3 separate regions of the Homo sapiens genome follow, and all the other regions are linked to region 1. The links are contacts of gene promoters, found by promoter capture Hi-C in blood cells and fetal thymus (Javierre and others, 2016). All regions are on one chromosome and are shown on one strand. Each heading gives the region's core, a stretch centred on a gene start or on the middle of the fragment in contact. The rest is flanking DNA. Distances are from core to core; before and after follow the strand shown. Region 1 holds the start of RTL5 (retrotransposon Gag like 5). Region 2 has its middle 13 kb from the start of PIN4. Region 3 overlaps PIN4 (peptidylprolyl cis/trans isomerase, NIMA-interacting 4).

Evidence for each region. The method cuts DNA at HindIII sites, captures the fragments that hold promoters and counts their contacts. A CHiCAGO score of 5 or more calls a contact.
Region 2: a fragment that was not itself captured here is called in contact with the fragment with the promoter of RTL5 in region 1 in 1 of 17 cell types (neutrophils); the score reaches 5.9 in neutrophils.
Region 3: a contact is called between a fragment that was not itself captured here and the fragment with the promoter of RTL5 in region 1, in 1 of 17 cell types (neutrophils). The highest score is 5.5, in neutrophils.

Annotation. Positions count from the first base shown.
Region 1 is chrX:72,130,660-72,133,831 of GRCh38, forward strand. It overlaps RTL5 (retrotransposon Gag like 5), which reads right to left and starts at 1,256. Exons shown (of 1, transcript NM_001405151.1): 1 at 1-1,256. The coding sequence starts at 881. It overlaps NHSL2 (NHS like 2), which reads left to right. Exons shown (of 8, transcript NM_001013627.3): 2 at 1,420-1,575. RefSeq lists silencers at 1,047-1,116, 1,277-1,336. The HindIII fragment of the contact is 11,603 bases long and covers 1-3,172 here.
Region 2 is chrX:72,167,091-72,171,215 of GRCh38, forward strand. No RefSeq gene overlaps it. Among named protein-coding and RNA genes, the nearest start is that of PIN4, 13 kb to the right of the region's middle. The HindIII fragment of the contact is 8,980 bases long and covers 1-4,125 here.
Region 3 is chrX:72,184,031-72,188,387 of GRCh38, forward strand. It overlaps PIN4 (peptidylprolyl cis/trans isomerase, NIMA-interacting 4), which reads left to right. Exons shown (of 4, transcript NM_006223.4): 2 at 2,431-2,504. Among named protein-coding and RNA genes, the nearest start is that of PIN4, 4.5 kb to the left of the region's middle. The HindIII fragment of the contact is 1,102 bases long and covers 2,077-3,178 here.

The DNA.
Region 1 (3,172 bases), core at 6-2,505:
ATTTCTGTTGACCATAAGAGCTCTTTGCGGAAGAATTCCGACAGGCCTTTGAGGAATTGGTTTTGGAGGCGGCAGTCATCCCAAGACAAGAATTGGGCCAGGAACTGAAAAGCATCTGCATAGCTGCCGAGGGTACAGTGGCCCTGCTTGAGCTTGCGAATGGCCTTTTTAGCCACACGTGGGGGGATGGGGCCACAGAATTCCTTACGGATTTCATCCAGGAAGCGCGGGAAGTTGGCATGCAAGGGGCTTCCTTCCTGGGTGACCGAGATGGCCCAGTCCTTGGCTTCGCCAGTGAAAAAGGAGATCAGAAAGGCCACCCGCTCGGCGCCCCCGGGGAAATGAACCTCATGGTCGGCTATGAAGGTCTCTAGCTGCATCAGGAATTCAGCCAGGTAGACTGGGTCTCCTGAAAAGGGCTCTATCTCAGGCCGCTCCAGCGGTGCCAGAGGGGGTTGCGGGGGCGGTTCCTTTGACGCGGGCGGAGGCAGCGCCGGCGGGGGCGGGATGGGCAGCAGAGGGGGGTCAGCGGGCCCGTCGGGGGTGCTGCGATCCTGGATCACGTTAATCAAAAGATCATCCGAGATACAGTCGGGCTCCGCGCGTGGGGGAGGCCGGCACAAGAAGGGCAGTTCTCCCCCGGGAATGACTTCGATCTCACTGAGCGCGAACTCCAAGTTCTCCTCCGCAAGGACGGGCACTATGGGTACTGGCCAGCGGATGTAGCTGGAGACATTGCCCCGCAAGGAATTAACCTCGGCCAGGGCTCTCCCGAGCTGGAGGCCCAAATTGGCATTCTCCCCGCGAAGGGCATTTAATTCTTCGCGCAGGGCCACATTCGCCATGCGGAGGCTGTTGAGATTTCCTGACGCCTCAGACATCTCGACAAGCCCAGGGGCCCTGGGGCTCCGTGGTGGGGAAAGGGGAACTGGAACTACGGGCGGCCGGAGGAGGCCGAAATGCGGCGGCGGGGCTCGGGAGGGACCGAAGTGCGGCAGCGGGGCACGGGCCAGGCCGGGCCACACCCACCGGGGCGAGCTCGGAGGGCGGCGCTCTGGGCGGAGGGCCCGGCGGCTCGGCCCAGGGCGCGTTACCTCGTCGCCGGGGCCGGAGAGGGCGGGCGGAGGCACGGGGCCCGGAGGCGCCAGGCGGAGGATGCGGGCGACACGGTGGCGGCGGCGACCGCGCGACCGGGCGGGCGGGCGGGCAGGGGCGAGCGGAGCGGGAGGGAGCGGACTGCGGCAGGATCTGTCGAGGAAAAATCTTGCGGCCGGCGATTCCCCGCCTTTTAAGCGCAGCCTCGCACTCCCCCCACCCCACGCAGGGGCGGGCCTTGGGGAACCGCGGGCGCCCACTGGCCGCCGCGCGCCGCTCCCCTCCAGCTCGCCTGCGCCTCTCACTGACTCTCTCCTTCCCTAGCTGCAGCTAACTCGGGTCGGGAAAATGCGACAGCGACTGCCCACTCGAGGTCGTCATGGCGACAGCCAGTGAACGTGTTCCTCTCCTCGGGCAGGCCCCCGAGTGTAGAGGAGCTGCTTCGGGAGGCGCAGCTCAATCTCCAGAGCCTGTTGCAAGGTACCGAGAGGGAGGGGGGCTGCGGCCGGAGCCCAGAAGCGAGATGCGCAGCGGCAGGAGGGAGGCAAAGAAGAAAGAGGACAGGGACCAGCAAGATAAAGACAGAGAGTTTAAAAACAATCGACAAAGCAGTTTCCAGCTTTCACCTTTCAGCCTAATGATTCTGAAAGAGGCTATTTCCAGGGCTGTTTCCCCCCATCCCCAGCCCCTTTTTTCAGCTCAGTAGCCCATGGGGAAACAAGGACAGAGACTGAGGCAGGGCCATAAGTTATGCCATTCACCGAGAGCTGGGTGGGAGACTCCCACAATGTGGGCCTACATTCCCTCCAGCCCCCCTCTTGCCACATCGCCCATGCCTTTGGGATCCTGGCACCAGAAGACAAAGGGGGCATCTGCAGGATCTCCCACTCTGGGCTTCACTCACTCTGCTCTTGCAATAACCCCTGGATAGCTACTGCCTCACCAAAGTAAGCCCAATACACAGCACCCAGAGGTCACCTATTTTGTCCCCCCTAACCAAGCCTGAGCTTCTCGATGTAAAGAATCACATCTTGCTACCCTTAGGTTTCCAGAAGCACCTGGCACAAGGCTGGATTCCCTCCCCACCTGCCAAGAGGTGCTCAGTGGATGTTGAGCATGAAAAGAGGTCTTGTCAGCACTCCTTTATCTATACTAATAAAGGTTAACTCTAATGGCGAATAGAAAACTGCTGATGGGCCACCAACAGGATGACAGCCATAACCCCCACCCCCTACCAGGGCAGTGGTGACCTTGGAAAAGCAAGATGCCAAGGGACACCATGAGCCTTGTGTTCAGATAACAAAGGACTTGCCACACAGAAAAAGAGTCGATGTGCTCTGTGTTGCTACCATGGCAGAATTAGGACCAGTGGGTGGAAACCCAGAAGGAGGCACATTCCACCTCCAGATAAGGAAGAACTTTCTGACACACCTGACAGCCCCAACTGTCCGTGGAAGAAATGAGCTGCCTTGGGAGGGAGGGAGCTCCCCTTCCCTGCAGGTGTGTGCGCTGAGGCTGAAGAAACACCTAGAAGGGCTGCTGAGGAGGGAGTCTGGGCACAGAATGAGGCGTTGGACCAAAGAACCCCAAGAGCAACCCCAAATCTCTGTGATTCTGAGTCTTTGTTCAGTGTACATACAGCATGAATGTCCCTTCTCTACTCTCACTTTCTTCATGTATTCTCATCAAATTCATCACTTCAATCAACCCTATTCAAATCTTGTGCATCCTTACTCACTGATGATGCCGCTGAACTTCTGCCTCTTTTATGCTGTTACCTCCTCCTTCCCTCTCCTTCACCTTAGCCCTCCTAGACCTGACATCACTTACAGCGGGACTAAGGTGCAGGGAACACGGCCCACAAAGGCTCAAGTAAAAGTTCTTGACATCCAAGAAAGAACTCCAGATTGGACTTCCTGGTGTAAATCTCTTCTTGCTTCACACAGGTCATTTCCTTGGTAGGGTCGCAGAAAACCTTAAGAGCTGCAGGGCTTCAAAGAGAGGAACTTGCAGTCCAAAGTAGCAAAAGGTGTCTGCATTCTGAGCCTCTTTTCGTAACTGAGCACTCAAGGTGGGG
Region 2 (4,125 bases), core at 1,589-4,088, 38 kb after region 1:
TTCTTGTAATGAGATTATTCTGTATCTTGATTGTGACGGAGGTTACACAAATCTACAACATGGTAAAATTACATCGAGTTAATACACAAATATACATTTGAGTGCATGTAAAACTGGTGAAATCTGAATAAGATAGACGGATTGTATCAATGTTAATTTCTTGTTTGTGATACTGTACTATTGTTTTGCAAGTTTCATTGAGTGAAACTAGACAAGGGGTACACATGGACTCATAATTTCTAACAACTGCATGTGAATCTACAATTATCTTAAACGGCATTTTTTTTGTTTTTATTTTAAAAGTAGAGGTGGGGGGGTTCCACTATGTTGCCCAGGCTGGTCTCGAACTCCTGACCTCAAGTGATCCACCTGCCTCAGCCTCCCAAAGTGCTGGCATTAAAGACGTGAGCCACTATGCCCACCCAAGACAATGATTATTAAAATGCAATTTGAAAATGGGCAAAGAACATGAAGGGACAGTTCACCAAAGTTATCTACAGATGGAAAATAAACACATGAAAATATGTTCAACATCACTAGCCATTAGAAAATGCAAATTAAGAACGCAATGAGATACTACTACACACCTATTAGAACAACAAAAATTAAAAATAGTGGCAATACCAGTTGGGTGTGGTGGCTCATGCCTGTAATCCCAGCACTTTGGGAGGCCGAGGGGGGCAGATCATGAGGTTAGGAGATCAAGACCATCCTGGCCACCTGGCCATCGAGACATGGTGAAGCCCCGTCTCTACTAAAAATACAAAAATTAGCTGGGCATGGTGGCATGTACCTGTAGTCCCAGCTACTCGGGAGGCTGAGGCAGGAGAATTGCTTGAACCCAGGAGGTGGAGGTTGCAGTGAGTCAAGATCATGCCACTGCACTCCAGCCTGGGCGACAGAGTGAGACTCTGTCTCAAAAAAAAAAAAAAAAAATAGTGACAATACCAAATGCTGGTAAAAATGCAGAGAAATAGTTCACTCACATAATTCTGGTGGAAATGCAAAATGGTACAGCCACTCTGGAAAATAATTTAGCATTTTCTTTAAAAACCAAACATATACTTACCGATTGACCCAGCAATTGCGCTCTTGGTTAATTAGTCCAGTAAAAAAAGTTTATGGGCTGGGTGCGGTGGCTCATGCCTGTAAGCCCAGCCCTTTAGGAGGCCAAGGCTGGTGGATCATTTGAGCTCAGGAGTTCGAGACCAGCTTGGCCAACATGGTGAGACCCCATCTCTACTAAAAATACAAAAATTAGCCAGGCGTGATGGTGTGCTCCTGTAATCCCAGCTACTCGGGAGGCTGAGGTAGGAGAATCGCTTGAACCCAGGAGGTGGAGGATGCAGTGAGCCGAGATTGCACCACTGCACTCTAGCTTGCGCGACGGAGTGAGACTCCATCTCAAAATAAAATAAGTACATAAAATAAAAGTTTATGTCCACACAAAAACCTATACATGAGTGTTCACAGCACTCTAATTTGCAATAGCCAAAAACTGGAAATAACCAAACTGTCCCTTAATAGGTGAGTGGCTAAACAAAGCGTGGTACATCCAAACCACGGAATACTACAGAATGAAATATTAATATGTGAAACAACTTGGACAGATCTCAAAGGAACCATGGTGAGTGAAAAAGGGCAATCTCAAAAGGTAACATACTGCATAATTCCATTTATGTAACATTCTTAAAGTGACAAAATTATAAAGATGGAGAACAGATTAGTTATTTCTAGGGTTTAGAGATGAAGATGATGGGATAGTTGTGTTACTGGTGGAGGGTGTCCAGGTTCTTGGCATTTTGAACAAAGAATTGGACAAAACACACAAAGCAAGAAAAGAATAAAGCAACAAAAGCAGAAATTTATTGAAAATGAAAGTACACTCCACAGTGTGGGAGCAGGCCCCGAGCACAGGGGCTCAAGAGCCCAGTTACAGAATCTTCTGGGGTCCAAGTACCCCCTAGAGGTTTCCCATTGGCCACTTGGTGTTCACTCCATGCAAATGAAGTAAGTACGCAATCAGAGGCTAAAGTGAAATTACAAAGTTGCACTCCTATACAAAAGAAGACTTGGCCCACAATCAGTCTGATTGGTTGCAGAAAGCAACAATCAGAGGCTGAAGTGAAGTTACAAAGTCACACTCCTATGCAAACATCTGATTGGTTGCAGAAAGCAACCAATTAGAGATACTTTCAATTTTCCATCTGCCGCGCAGAAAAGGGGCACGTTGCAAAGGAAGTAGCTTCTGGTCCTTTTGTTACTTAGGTGTAGAAAGTTGGGGTTTTCCTTTTGATTTAGTTCTAGGAAGTCAGCGTGAATTGGTCTTAGATTCCCTGCCTCCAGACCCTTTTCTCCTGCCTCAGTTTTGTATCTTGATGGTAGTTCCATGGACCTACACGGGGCATCAAATGACATAAAACCATACACACATATTATGTCAGTGCCAATTTCCTGGTTTTGATATTGTACTATAGTTACATGAAATGTAACCATTTGGGGGAACTGGGTGAAAGATACCCAGAACCTCTCTGTAGTATTTTATAACTTCCTGTTAATCTATAATTCTTTTAAAATAAGAATGTTTAAAATGAAAAAGATAATTGACTATTTAAAGCAAAAATAATTACAATATATTGTGAGGTTTATGACGTAGATAAGTAAAATATATAACAACAATAACACAAAGGTCAGAGGAGGGAAATGGAAGTATACCTTTGTAAGGTTCCTATGCTGTAGGTGAAGTGGTATATCATTTGAATGTATAATATGAAAAGTTAAACATTAATTAATTAATTGATTGATTGATTGATTTTTGAGATGGAGTCTCGCTCTGTCTCCCAGGCTGGAGTGCAATGGTGTGATCTTAGCTCACTGCAACCTCCGCCTCCTGGGTTCCAGCAATTCTCCCACCTCAGCCTCCTGAGTAGCTGGGATTACAGGCACGCATCACCACGCCCGGCTAATTTTTTGTATTTTTAGTAGAGACAGGGTTTCACCATGTTGGCCAGGCTGGTCTTGAACTCCTGACCTCAAGTGATCTGCCTGCCTCAGCCTCCAAAAGGGCTGAGATTACAGGCATGAGCCACTGCGCCTAGCCAAGTTAAAGATTTATAATATAAACCCTAAAGCAACCTCTAAAATAATAGAACAAAAAGTTATAGATAATAGCCAACAATGGAGATAAAAATGAGTCATAAAAATACTTGGCCAGGCATGGTGGCTTACACTTGTAATCCCAGCACTTAGGGAGGCCAAGTCGTGATGATTGCTTGAGGCCAGGAGTTTGAGACCAGCCTGGGCAACATAGAAAGACCTCATCTCTACAAAACATTTAAAAATTAGCAGGGGGTGGTGGTATGTGCCTGTAGTCCCAGCTACTCAGGAGGGTGAGGTGGGAGGATCCCTTGAGCCCAGGAGTTTGAGGCTGCAGTGAGCTATGATTTCACAACTGCATTCCAACCTGGGTGATAGAGCAAGATCCCATCTCTTTATATTAAAAAAAAAAAAAGAAGAAGAAGGAAGAAAGAAACTCAATCTGAAAGAGGGCAAAGAAAGAGGAAAATGGAACAAAGAACAGATGGAACAAAGAGAAACCATATAGAAATCTAACCATATCAATAATCACATTAAATGCAAAGCATCTAAACACTCCCATTCCAAAGGGAAAGACTGTCATATTAAGTAGAAAAAGCACAGAGGGCAGGGCACAGTGGCTTATGCCTATAATCCCAGCACTTTGGGAGGCCAAGGTGGGAGGATCATTTGAGCCCAGGAGTTCGAGATCAGCCTGGGCAACACAGCAAGACCCCATCTCTACAAAAAATGTTTAAAAAATTAGCCAGGTGTAGTGGCGCATGCCTGTAGTCCTAGATACTTGAGACGCTGAGGCCAGAGGATCACCTGATCCCAGGAGTTCAAGGCTGTAGTGAGCTGTGATCACACCACTGCATCCAGCCTGGGTGACAGAGTGAGACTCTGTTTCTTAAAAAAAAAAAAGTTAAAAAATAAAAAATAAAAAAAAATTTTTTTTAAAAGGAAAAGCACAGGACTCAACTATATGCTCCCTGAAAAAAAAAGCCCTCACTTTGGTATAATGACACAAACAGGTTAAAAGTAAAAAGA
Region 3 (4,357 bases), core at 1,378-3,877, 55 kb after region 1:
TTGTAGACTACATAATCTTCACAGTCTGATTTACCTAGTACTATGCAATTGGCACAATATAGGATTGAAAAGAGCTAGGTGCAGCCTTAAGCCATGGTTGAGGTTTTGTTAGGCAGTTATGATAGGAGGATAGCAACACCAGGGAATTACAAGGGCCAGTGGGAATGCAGTTCAGATGAAGGAACATGGGGTCCAGAGTGGGAAGGGAAAAAGAAGTCTGGTGGCCTAGGTGAATGTAGCAGGACGAAGGGACTGGGGTCAAGGGAGAGGTTCTGTGAAGTTAAAGAGCAAGTATTGTGGGAATGAGACATGAGGAAGCTGGAAGAACAGGAGGTTATAGCCAGAGACTGAACTAGTTCTGAGTGGCACAGTTCCATCGTGTGCCCCCGGGGCAGGTAGCTTGGAGTAGAGAGCATGACATTCGGGAAAGAGACCTAGAACTGAGATTCCCCAAGATAGATGGTGAGGTCACTCAAGGTAATGGCAGGAGTGAGGGTGGAGAGGAAGCCCAAAGCTGATGCCAGAGTCGTCAGGAAATCAAAGGCAGTGAGGTGGCAGTCAGAAGATGACAGCATCCAGCAGGGAAGAGGATGGGATAACTGGAAGGCATCATCATTCAAGAATGGATCTATAGCAAACCCAGTTAGGAGTTTGATTTAATAACACTCCTTTGGCAGTAACATTTTTTTAGGGTTTTGGTAGTCAGTATTTGGGGTTTTCAGTTTAATCAAACATTTATTAAAACACCTTTTGTGTGCCAGGCATTGTGCTAGGCTTGGAGATACTAAGACAAGCAAGATGGAGACTCTTGCTTAAAACTTTTCAATGGCGGCCAGGCGCGGTGGCTCACGCCTGTAATCCCAGCACTTTGGGAGGCCGAGGCTCGCAGATCACGAGGTCAGGAGATCGAGACCATCCTGGCTAACAGGGTGAAACCCTGTCTCTACTAAAAATACAAAAAAAATTAGCGGGGCGTGGTGGCAGGCGCCTGTAGTCCCAGCTACTCGGGAGGCTGAGGCAGGAGAATGGCATGAACCCGGGAGGCGGAGCTTGCAGTGAGCCGAAATCGCGCCACTGCACTCCAGCCTGGGCGACAGACAGAGCGAGACTCCGTCTCAAAAAAAAAAAAAAAAAAACAACTTTTCAATGGCTCCCTATTACGTCTAGGATAAGTCCCAAGCTCCTTAATGGGGCCAAAAGGCCTCAATGCCCTGACCCTCAGCTACCTCCCTCAGGCAGGCTCATCTGAGTGCACTCCCACCTCAGATTTGGCTTCATCCATACAATTTCTTACACATACCATGTCGTTTCCCCCATTCTGGAGTGTCTCCTCATCCTTTCTTTGGCTAACCAGCTCCTACTCATCCAGGAAACCTTCCCTGGCTGGCTCCAGTGTCCCTCTGTGCTTCCACAGCCCCCTGTCCATAACCATCTCTGCATCTCCTGCATTCTCCTGAAATGATCCGTCTTCCTCACTAGAATATGAGTTTTCTGAAGGAAGGTACATGGCTTGTTCATCTTTGTACTCCCAGTGCCTGGAACTCAGTAGTTGTATAGGAAATGTTTATTGAACTGAGCCCTTAATTCAACTGTAATTCTTAGGAACATCAGCCTCTAGCAGTATGTAGGCTGCCATTGACACAGAAGTTACCATAGTAGTAAAATGACATACTAGTAAAATGTAAGATGCTGCTAATGGTTCTAGGAAGACATCAATAGGCAATGTAGTAGACTCTAGAAATTTGGACATGAATGTATTCTTTAGCCAAAAATGGGTAGTGGGAAATTTGATCTTTTTAAAAAATGTATTCTTAGAGATTTTACTTACTGGAATTGTGATGCTTGAACACATAGTTGTGGTACATGATAGAACTCTTACAAGAACTTAGGAGTCTGCCCTCAGAAGGCAGGGTGTTAAATTGGATGCAAAGAATCTGGGCCAGGCTTCCGGAGCTTTCATTCACCTATTAGCACACTCATTTGTGTATCCATTTTCTGTGAAGGGTTTATATAGGGCACAGATTTCCTGTTTGAAGAAAGATGGGTCAGATTAATTTAGCTTGATGTTGTAAAGCAAGCTTGTCCAACCCACGGCCCACGGGCTGCATACGGCCCAGGATGGCTTTGAATGCAGCCCAACACAAATTTGCAAACTTTCTTAAAACATTATGAGATTTTTATTTGTGATTTTTTTTTTTTTTAGCTTGTCAACTATCATTAGTGTTAGCGTATTTTGTGTGGCCCAAGATAATTCTTCCATTGTGGCCCAGGGAAGCTGAAAGGTTGGATACCCTTGTTGTAAAGTGTCTGGCCGAGTTCCCTTTTGAAGTGTGGCGTTATGATGGAAATATCCACTCCGGTTGTGTGTTGGACCTTTCTGTAAACATGGAGGTGCAGTTTAAATGAGTACCTGTCATCTCTTCTCTAAAGGGGGAGCAGCCTCTGGGAGTGACAGTGCTGACAAGAAGGCTCAAGGTCCCAAAGGTGGTGGCAATGCAGTAAAGGTGAGTTACTGGTTCCTTTTTTTCCATGTTAAATATAAATTCTGTTTATGTGTTAGTACACATAAAAGACAGAATGCTTAACTCATTCTAACAGGCTAGCCTAACACTGGTATAAAATCAAAATAACACAAAATTGTAGCTGGGCGCACCTGTAATCCCAGCACTTTGGGAGGCCAAGGCAGGCAGATCAGCCTGGCCAAAATGGTGAAACCCTGTCTCTACTAAAAATACAAAAATTTGCCTGGTGTGGTGGTGTACACTTGTAATCCTAGCTACTTGGGAGGCTGAGGCACGAGAATCAAGAATCGCTTGAACCAGGAGGCTGAGGTTGCAATGAGCTGAGATTGCACCACTGCACTCCAGCCTGGGCAACAGAGTAAGATTCCATCTCAAAAAAATAAATAAATAAAAATAAATTTTAAAAAAATGGAAAATATAGACCAGTCTTGCTTATGAAAAGTAATTCCCTTTAAATATTTTGTCATGTACTTTCTCAGATACCCAGAATTTCTTTATAGTTTTTTAGTATTGTTCCTTAAAATGCATTAAGTTAGATCTTCCCAGTAATTGAGTTATTTCTTAGGACAAAATAATATTTTATAAAACCAAGAGATTAGATAAGTGTTAAAAGTCCTCTGCTGAATAAACAGGCAAGGGTGCAGGTCTCTTTAGAAAGCTTCCCCACTGGTGAGCCACAAACCAGGGTCTTGACCATGAAAATGGGGGCAGGAGAAAATCAGCAAATAATTACTTGAAATACTTAACCTAGCCCCAGAGGAGTATCTGCTGGGAGAAAATTTAATCTGCAAACTAGTAAGTGCTATGTAACAAGGCAATTTCCATGTTTTAGTCAGGATATGGGAGGCTGTACTTTGATTCATTCATTCAGTAAGGACTTAGTGACATCTGCCCTGTGCCAAGCAATGTATTAGGCTCTGGGGATTTTTTATCATGTATTTATTTAATAAAAAAGTAAGAGATGGGCCAGGCACAATGGTTCATTCCTGTAATCCCAGCACTTTGGGAGGCCAAGGCACGAGGATCACTTGAGCCCAGGAGTTTGAGACCAGCCTGGGCAATATAGCAAGACCCTGTCACTAAAAAAGTAAAAATAAAAAATCAGCCAGACGTGGTGGTGCACAACTGTGGCCCTAGCTACTCAGGAGGCTGAGGTGGGAGGATCGCTTGAGCCCGAGAATTTGAGGCTACAGTGAGCCATGATTGTGCCACTACACTCATCCTATGCAACAGAGCGAGACCCTGTCTCAAAAAAATAAATAAAAAGTAAGAGATGGTCCTTGTTATCACAGGCTACTTGGGAGCAGTTAGGTAAAGATATGTATTTCATTGCTGTATGATAAGCATAGCAGTGGAACTGCATCATATAAATTCAGCCATACATGTGTAGCCTAAAAAAGAGAGATCATGTAAATGGTGTGGACTGTTCTGCCCACTCTTCTATTCAATGAACCTATGCCCCACAGAGAGAGAGAGAGATGAGAGACATGCACCTGCTTTTCTATAGTTGCCCTGAATTCTTGTGTGAGCATCCAATCATGTGAAGTGGGGTTCTGGTATCCAAAGATAAGTTTTCATAAAACATAGCCCCTAAATACAACCCAGTTACTTCATGTTACAAACGGAGTACAGCGTTCCTGGCTATGTCTGGGCTTAAATGAGAGCTGACATGCTGGTCTCCCATATGACATCTTCATAAAGGGATATTCTAGGGTAATTTTGGCTATATGCAGTTTTCACCTAATATGTTTTCACAAGCATCTAACCTAAGAGACTGTTGCACTGCATATGGCTTTAGCTACTTTTTTTTATTTTTTTTTTTGAGACGGAGTTTC